Regions from separate parts of the Homo sapiens genome. Here region 2 is linked to region 1. The links are contacts of gene promoters, found by promoter capture Hi-C in human tissues and cell types (Jung and others, 2019). All regions are on one chromosome and are shown on one strand. The core of a region is centred on a gene start or on the middle of the fragment in contact, and the rest is flanking DNA. Distances in the headings are between cores, read along the strand shown.

What was found. The method cuts DNA at HindIII sites, captures the fragments that hold promoters and counts their contacts. A contact is called where the count stands out against the background at its distance.
Region 2: a contact is called between a fragment that was not itself captured here and the fragment with the promoter of ARHGAP6 in region 1, in 1 of the 25 tissues and cell types used here (pancreas).

The regions. Positions count from the first base shown.
Region 1 is chrX:11,663,840-11,667,756 of GRCh38, reverse strand. It overlaps ARHGAP6 (Rho GTPase activating protein 6), which reads left to right and starts at 1,837. Exons shown (of 13, transcript NM_013427.3): 1 at 1,837-3,516. The coding sequence starts at 2,929. The HindIII fragment of the contact is 7,841 bases long and covers 113-3,917 here.
Region 2 is chrX:11,528,596-11,532,512 of GRCh38, reverse strand. All of the region lies in intron 1 of ARHGAP6 (Rho GTPase activating protein 6), which reads left to right. Among named protein-coding and RNA genes, the nearest start is that of ARHGAP6, 140 kb to the left of the region's middle. The HindIII fragment of the contact is 5,607 bases long and covers 1-3,917 here.

The DNA of each region.
Region 1 (3,917 bases), core at 588-3,087:
GTCAGGAACACTTGGAAACTAGATGATGAATTAACTGGCATGTGTGTGTTCCAAGCCCTAGGAGTGCTAATAGAAGAATCCCTCTGCTGGTTGGCTCTCCAACACCCATGAGCAAGAATGTATGCCCTTGTGCCTGGGGGCATTCATACTAGCCTATACAGTCATGGCAGGGGTTCATTTGCTACCCCATGGTTATCATATGGGGTTAGAGAAATATATAAATCATCAAATACAATCATCAAGTTGCTCACCCCCCTTGAGTTATAAGTGATTCTGTGAAGTGACTCTGTTAACCATCTACCCCGAATGCCAAACTCCACTGAGGCATAACCATGCAATGAGGCATAACCATGCATTCGTATCCCAGTGGTAGAGACATTAAGTGTTTCCATTACCAGTGATAAATTACAGTTTTGTTACTAAAGAAAGGGCAGACAAGACCCACACACTTTTACTTCTAATGTGACTTGTATGAGGAGGGAAGAAAGCCAATGCCAACAAGCCCCCAAATGTAACTTGGCCTGGGTGTAGTTAGGCAGGGGAGCAAGAGCTCTTTTTAAACACTGTGCCTGTCAGCAGCACACCTGATTGACAGCCGCTGAAAATACTTAAGAAGCTCAGGGTGAGAAGAGATGGACAGCGATGGGGGATGGGAAACTAGAATCGAACTCTGTCTTCAGACAGCAGATAGCTCATTAAAGCTACCGGAAAAAAAATCTCTAAGGGTGCAGTCTGTTCGGCTGCGTTTACAAAAAACGAGTACAGCCAAGACCTGGGAGCCCGACGCCCTTTGTGGAGACAACGAATTCTCCTAATTAGATTTCATGACGTACCTCCTCCAAAATAGCTGAACACCTAGGAACACCAAACACGCTTTTCAAAGAGTCTAAGTAAATTAACTTTTCCCCTGAATATGTCATAGGGAATAAAGGAAGTCTTCCAGAATCAAACTTGGACAATTCTGGTAGATATGCAAGAGGAATGTTCGTGTCCAACATCTGTATTTATAATTTCATTGTATTTTTTCTCCAAAATAAAAGAAATGGTAGAGTCACCTTTACATTTATATAAAATTATCTTCATCCCTAAGTGATAAAAGAGGACACAAACACAAAGTAGACATTTCCAACATTCTGTCTGCTCCCTGCTGAGATGGTTGTAAGTTGCATTGCAAAGCTTAACTGTTACATCAAAAAGCCCTCCAAGAGGGCGAGGCTTTGCGCTTTATAGATTCCAGGGGTCCGACAGCGGGAGAAGCTGCTTTCAGACTCATCTCCTTGCCGGGAAGATTGATTTCCCCAGCGTTCTCCAGCTTCCCAGGACTGTGGCCACCGCGCTGAGACCCGAGGCGTCCCAGAGCGGGACGCGGAGACAGATCGCTTTGTGAGCGCCAATCTCTGCAGCCTCTGGGCTGAAGCTGCGCCCGGCGCCTGCCCCCTACCCGGCCTCACTCACCCCTCCTCCTAGAGCACGTTTCCGCACGTGCTCAGGACCCCTTCCACGGCAAAGGCTCCTCCCCCTCCACTTTCTTAGTAGGTCTCCATCTCCAGCTCATTCATCGGCAGCCACTGCTTTTAGACAGTTTCCTATCTATCCTTCCTTTTTAAAAACAAAAACAGCCGGGACAGGGCGGGGTGGGGGGGCGCGGGGAGAAAAGGCAGGAGATTTAACTCCAACTTCAGAGCAATCGTCCCCGGCTGCCCATCTGACACCAGTGGGTGGGGTGCAATCTGACACTTCCCTTCCTTTCCAGAAACGTGAGTGGAGCTGGCGCGACCCTTGATCTGGGGGTGGGGAGACGGGGGAGAAGGTCCGCACTTCCGTCCTCACGACTTTCTCCCCAGGAGACCCGGTATCAGTGGCGAGCTGCCTTCTCTCCTCGCCGCTTGCAGGTTTGGCGCCTGGAAAACTCTTCACGTTCTGCTTTCTCCTGCTCCTGGCTCCGCCCCAGCTCCAGCCCCGGCATTCCTCCAGCTCTACACGTCCTGGCCGCCCCCTTCCCGCTGCCTCTAGAGCGAGCGTACGGGGTCATCTCCGCGTCTGCCCTGGGCCCAAGGCTGGGCTGCGAATAGCGTGTTCCTCTCCGGCGGAACACACACACCCGGCCTTGGGGCTGTCTCCTGAGCTCCCTCCTCCACGGAGAGCGCTGAGCGCCGCCGGGAATTCCATCCCACCGTGGGCACGCAGTCTTTGGAGGTCCCGGGCGCAGCACGCTCGGTGTCCCCACACTGCAGCAAGACAGAGACCCCGCGGGAACCTTGAGCTTGGAACAACCCTTGAGCCTCTGCAGTCGGAAGAGTGGGCGCAGCAGCCCAGCGGAGGCCAGGCGCGCAACCTCGGGCGCCGGGGCAAGGAGAGAGTGCAGGGAGGCGCAGCTCAGGCGCCCGGCTCAGGAGCGGGAGGAAGTTCTCGCGGCGCCGGGAGCGCGGTGGACGCGCCCTGGGCGCACGCCCAGGCAGCCTTCTCCCTGGCCCTCGGGACTGTCCTCGGGCCGCAAGGAGGAGCTTGCTGGAGTCTTAGAGGCCATCCAGAGCCAGCGAGCAGGAGCGCTGCGTCTCCCGCCTCAGCTAGGAAGGGGGAGTGGCGCTGGCAGGCTGGAGCTGGGAACCCAGCGAGCGCCTGACCTTCCTCCTCCTCTTCCTGACCCTCTTCGCGTCTTGGGCTCCGGAGGAAGGTTCTAGCGGCTGCAGGAGGTCCCCAGACCCATTTTCCTAGAAGGCTGGTGATGGATCTGCTGCTCCTGCCGCCGCCGGGGCACTTGGAGCGCACCGGCGGCGCGTGAGCTGGGCTTTGCTCTCCACTGCCCTGGGCAAACCCCGGGCCAGCCCCGCCTGGCACCTTTGCCTGAGTCCCTTTCGGTTCCCGACCCAAAGCCACCAGCGTCCAGGGAGGGAGGAGGAGGTGGTCCTCAGGTGCAGCCCCGCCGAGATGTCCGCGCAGAGCCTGCTCCACAGCGTCTTCTCCTGTTCCTCGCCCGCTTCAAGTAGCGCGGCCTCGGCCAAGGGCTTCTCCAAGAGGAAGCTGCGCCAGACCCGCAGCCTGGACCCGGCCCTGATCGGCGGCTGCGGGAGCGACGAGGCGGGCGCGGAGGGCAGTGCGCGGGGAGCCACGGCGGGCCGCCTCTACTCCCCATCACTCCCAGCCGAGAGTCTCGGCCCTCGCTTGGCGTCCTCTTCCCGGGGTCCGCCCCCCAGGGCCACCAGGCTACCGCCTCCTGGACCTCTTTGCTCGTCCTTCTCCACACCCAGCACCCCGCAGGAGAAGTCACCATCCGGCAGCTTTCACTTTGACTATGAGGTTCCCCTGGGTCGCGGCGGCCTCAAGAAGAGCATGGCCTGGGACCTGCCTTCTGTCCTGGCCGGGCCAGCCAGTAGCCGAAGCGCTTCCAGCATCCTCTGTTCATCCGGGGGAGGCCCCAATGGCATCTTCGCTTCTCCTAGGAGGTGGCTCCAGCAGAGGAAGTTCCAGTCCCCACCCGACAGTCGCGGGCACCCCTACGTCGTGTGGAAATCCGAGGTAGGGACCAGCGCTGCGCGTCCCACGGCCCAAGGAGGAGGCCCCCAGGCAGTTTCAGGAGACCGCCTTTAATTCCATTACATTTACAGAGCAAGGCACCCACTAAGGGGTTTCCGTGGTGTGGGTTTTCCTCTTCTACTTGCTAAATGGTGCCTGGAAATGGGATGTCCCTAGTGGCCACCCGCTTGTGCGTCTTGTAGGACTTGTTGGCTCTACTTTGGAGCAGTCGTGGGAGCTGGAGAAAGAGATGGTGTTCTGGTTTTCTGTTAGTGCTGCAGGCAATTTCAAAGGGTCACCTTATCCCTTCACCCAATGTTGATATTTTTTCCAACTCAAATATCTATTGCTAAGCTGTTTGTAACGATTGGATGAAATATATTTTGAAATATGTCTGCCATCTT
Region 2 (3,917 bases), core at 442-2,941, 140 kb after region 1:
AAGTTTTTTTCTAGGCCAGCCTGTAATCAGTCAAGCACCATCCCATTGGCCAGAACACAGTCACATGATCACAGACAGGGTGGAGAGGGAATAGGTTTTGGTGAACACATAGCAGTGTACCCACAGTCTCTAACACAGTCCACCCTGTTACTTTAAAAATAAAATTTTGTTATTCATTCATTTATTCTTTATCAGTTGATGCCATTTCTTAGCCATGTTCCCTTGGTATTTATCATTACACGCACATGTTCGTGAACATATCCACTTTAAGACCTTGTCTTTAAACTCGGTACGTATGTATAAAGTGATTATGATGAACATAAGAAATGGCATCAGTTAATAATGAATGAATGGAATTGTATTTTTAAAGAAATACCATGAACTGTATTAGAGATTGTGGCTACAGTGTTGTGTGTTCAACAAATCTTTCTCTAACCTCCACCCACATGGTTGAAAACAAAGGAGACTTCGAACCCCAGCTCAGTGTAGCACCAATGCCTCAATAGCATCCTTGGAGCAGAGCTCCTCAAATGAGAATGTGCATGTAATTGTCTGGTAAATATTACCAGCACAATGGGGCCTGAGCTTCAGAATTTTTAATACTGGTTATGCTGATGTTGCTGGACTGTGGAACACACTTTGAGTTGTAAGAATAAGTGTACTGAGCTAATAAGAGAAACCACGTTTCTTCATCTCTGTAATCACCGATAGTTTTGACTGTAATAGCTGGGACCCCAGGCAGCTGTCTGGATTTTGGAGAAAATGAGGATATAAAGGGAATGTGAACTGAAGCTCAAAGCTTGGGATAGCTATGGATTATAATAAATTTTAAAGCAACAACTTGCAAACAAATGGGTATTATGTATCTGATGCAGTTCAGGTTTTAAAAATAAATCTTACAGCCAAAAAAAAAAAGAACCCCCTGTCATTAATCTAGGTTGACAAACATGAAAGAAAAGTTTAGGAAAGAAAGGAAACAGAGAGATGGGGAAGAGGGGTAAGGTGAGTGGGTGGGTGGAGGAATGTCTTAGATTGACTAGAGAAATGGGTTTTGCTTCATGGGATTTTTTCATATTTCCAGGAGAGGGCAGCCAGTCCCCACTCTAAAAACAATGTAAACTTTTACATTTGCATCTACCATTTTCAGAAAGTATTGTGATATACAGTGATTTTTTAAAAAACTTACTTCTGTCCATTCTATTAACCATAATTGGAAGCTCAATATATACGAAGGGCATTAAACTAAGAGTCAAACATCTGAATTTGGAAGGTCCTTTTTCCTAGATCTTAGCAATTCTGTACCTGCAGGCAAGTTGATGAACATCCTAGATTTTTTATATGTAAATTAGATGCAGTAAGACTAGATCCGCCTCCTGGAAGGATGGCAGATAATTAATGAATATTGTTTGTGAAAGCCCTGTATGAATATATTAATTCATTCATCTATCCATTCACTTGTTCAGTCACACATTTAAGCCTTAACGTGTTGCAGTGCTGGATGTCGAAATACAAAATGACCGTCACACAGATTCTGCCTTCAAACAACCTATTGCTAACTGAAGAAAAATAGTATGATTATGCTATAATTGAACTGCAAAGTGACAGTCTAATAAGGCTTGGTAGGAGCACCCTCTACTGACAACCCTGACCTGCTGTCCTTTTCTCCCAGTACTTGGCACTTCACTCATTCCATTCCAGTTACATAGGCCTCCCCCAGCTGTTCCTCAGACTCAACAAGTTCTCTATGTTTTGGGGAATTTGAATTTCGTTTTCTTGCCTGAAGTGTTTTTCCCTTAGTTATCCACATGGCTCATGCTCAAGGATTTTTAAAAAAAGATCTCTGCTCCCTTGTACAATTCTTACAGAGGCCACTCAGAGTACATTATCTAAAATAGCACCTCAGTTACTCTCTATTTCACCCTCTCTCAGTCTGCAAATTAAGATGTCATTCCCTAAGGCATCCATTGTATGCAATGAATTAACTTCTCTCGTATGTATCGAGAATGGTAATAGCTGTGCATCATCCTTGGGAAAATTGAGAATATAGTCTGTCAAAGTACTTTCTGTGTTCTGTGGTTTAGATGAAGATAGCAAGTTGAGTCCGTGTTTTACTTTGCTTTATAACAGTTTTCACTTACCAAACACAATATTATGAATATATTTAATTTGTTTTTCTCTCCTTTCTCACCATTAGAACACAAACTCTAAAAAGGTAGGAACCATGGTTTGTTCAATGTTGTATCTGTAGCACCTACACCACCATGTGCCATCTCCAGCTTGGCATATTGTAGGGTAGGCAATACACTTTTGTTGGATGGATGAGTGTGAATGACGAATGAATGGATGAATGAATGTTGAGAATGCACTCAAGAGGTAACTCTTGATCTGGGTCTTGTAAGATCAGCAGAATTTTCCTTGGTAGATGGGGATGGGAAAGGTATTCAGACACAGTATGGTTTAATGCCACAGTCTTGTAAACTTGAGAGAGCCATATCCAGGTAAGGCAGTGGCTTTCTGAAGTGGCAAATCCATACCTATTGTAGTTTTCCTGATTTTTGTCCTTCTTTGGAGAGTATTATACACTGCATATACATTGTATTATTCACAATATATTTTTGACAGAAATAAGTTGTATTTCCTGAGCAGACACCTCCACTTGTTGATGGCCTGTGTACTAAGGAAAATACAGATTTTAACATTAGCCTAAATACCACATAATTAGAAATTTAATCTACTGGGGAAAATATCATTAAATTTTCATACTGCATATATTACTTTGACTTATCAGAGTTATTCTTCTCTTATTAATAAAAGAACAAGGTGTCAGTTTACTCACTGATTAAAATAATCATATTATTCCATTTCAAGAGCCTATGTTTTCAATAGTGAAATGCATGTTTAATGATCTTTAGATCCATGCTACTCAAAGTATGGTCCCCGGACCAGTGCCAATTCTTAGATAGTCCTTGCAGGTCTGTAAGGATATATGCAAATCAAGCAAGAGTAAACATTTAGAAACTTTTATAGAAATTTGGCACCATAATTTTATATCTATTGAACCTAATTTTTAAAACTGGGCTTGTGTTTCATGTGCTTCCCTCCACCCCTTTTTAGTAATTTATTTTATTTTTATTACATTTTACAAAAGTATGATTCTGCAATGGATTGGAAACAAACAAGCAAACCTTGTCTTTCAATACAGGTCATTTGAGAAACACTGCTCTAGAGCATGATTCGTGCACTGCCTTTAGTCCCACAAAGCCTAAACTATAGGGAACACTGAGAATTTAGCTTGGAGTCGAACTGACCTTAAACCAGGTGACAGTGCCTGTTAATAGTGCTGATAGCTGGCATTTATCAAGCACTTACTATGTTCCAGACATTACACTAAAGACTCGAGAGATTTCCCTTGCAGCAAGGGCCTGAGAAAAGTAAAAGTAGATGGGGGAGAGGGAGATTGTGTGTGTGACATCAGAAGCACACACAGATGTTTCTTGCTCTATCCAACTTCTTTCAGGGATAGAAAGTCTAGAATGACAACCACTCCACTGACAGTTACACTGATTTGACATCCATTTTCTTTTATTTCTGGGTTGGTTTTAGTAATGTTTTGGTAATATAAGCCATTAAGCTTACACATGGGTACAGGAAAGGCTGAGTTTCGGGTTGTTTGTTTATGCATGCATGGATGCCTTGGAGACCTGGTGGAGAACCCAAAAGCTTAATAGCGGCCTTTGCTTAAGGAAACCTGGCCTACTTCACCCAGGGGCAAAGCTATTAGTGTCCAGAATCTGGGCCCTGTTGCATAAAGATCTTGTTGTAACTGGTTCAATTCTAGGAGGGCTGGGGAAATATGTTTTTTAGAAGCCTTGAAATTTACAACCTCATTGTCCATTGTGGTCTTTTCAAAGCATTCA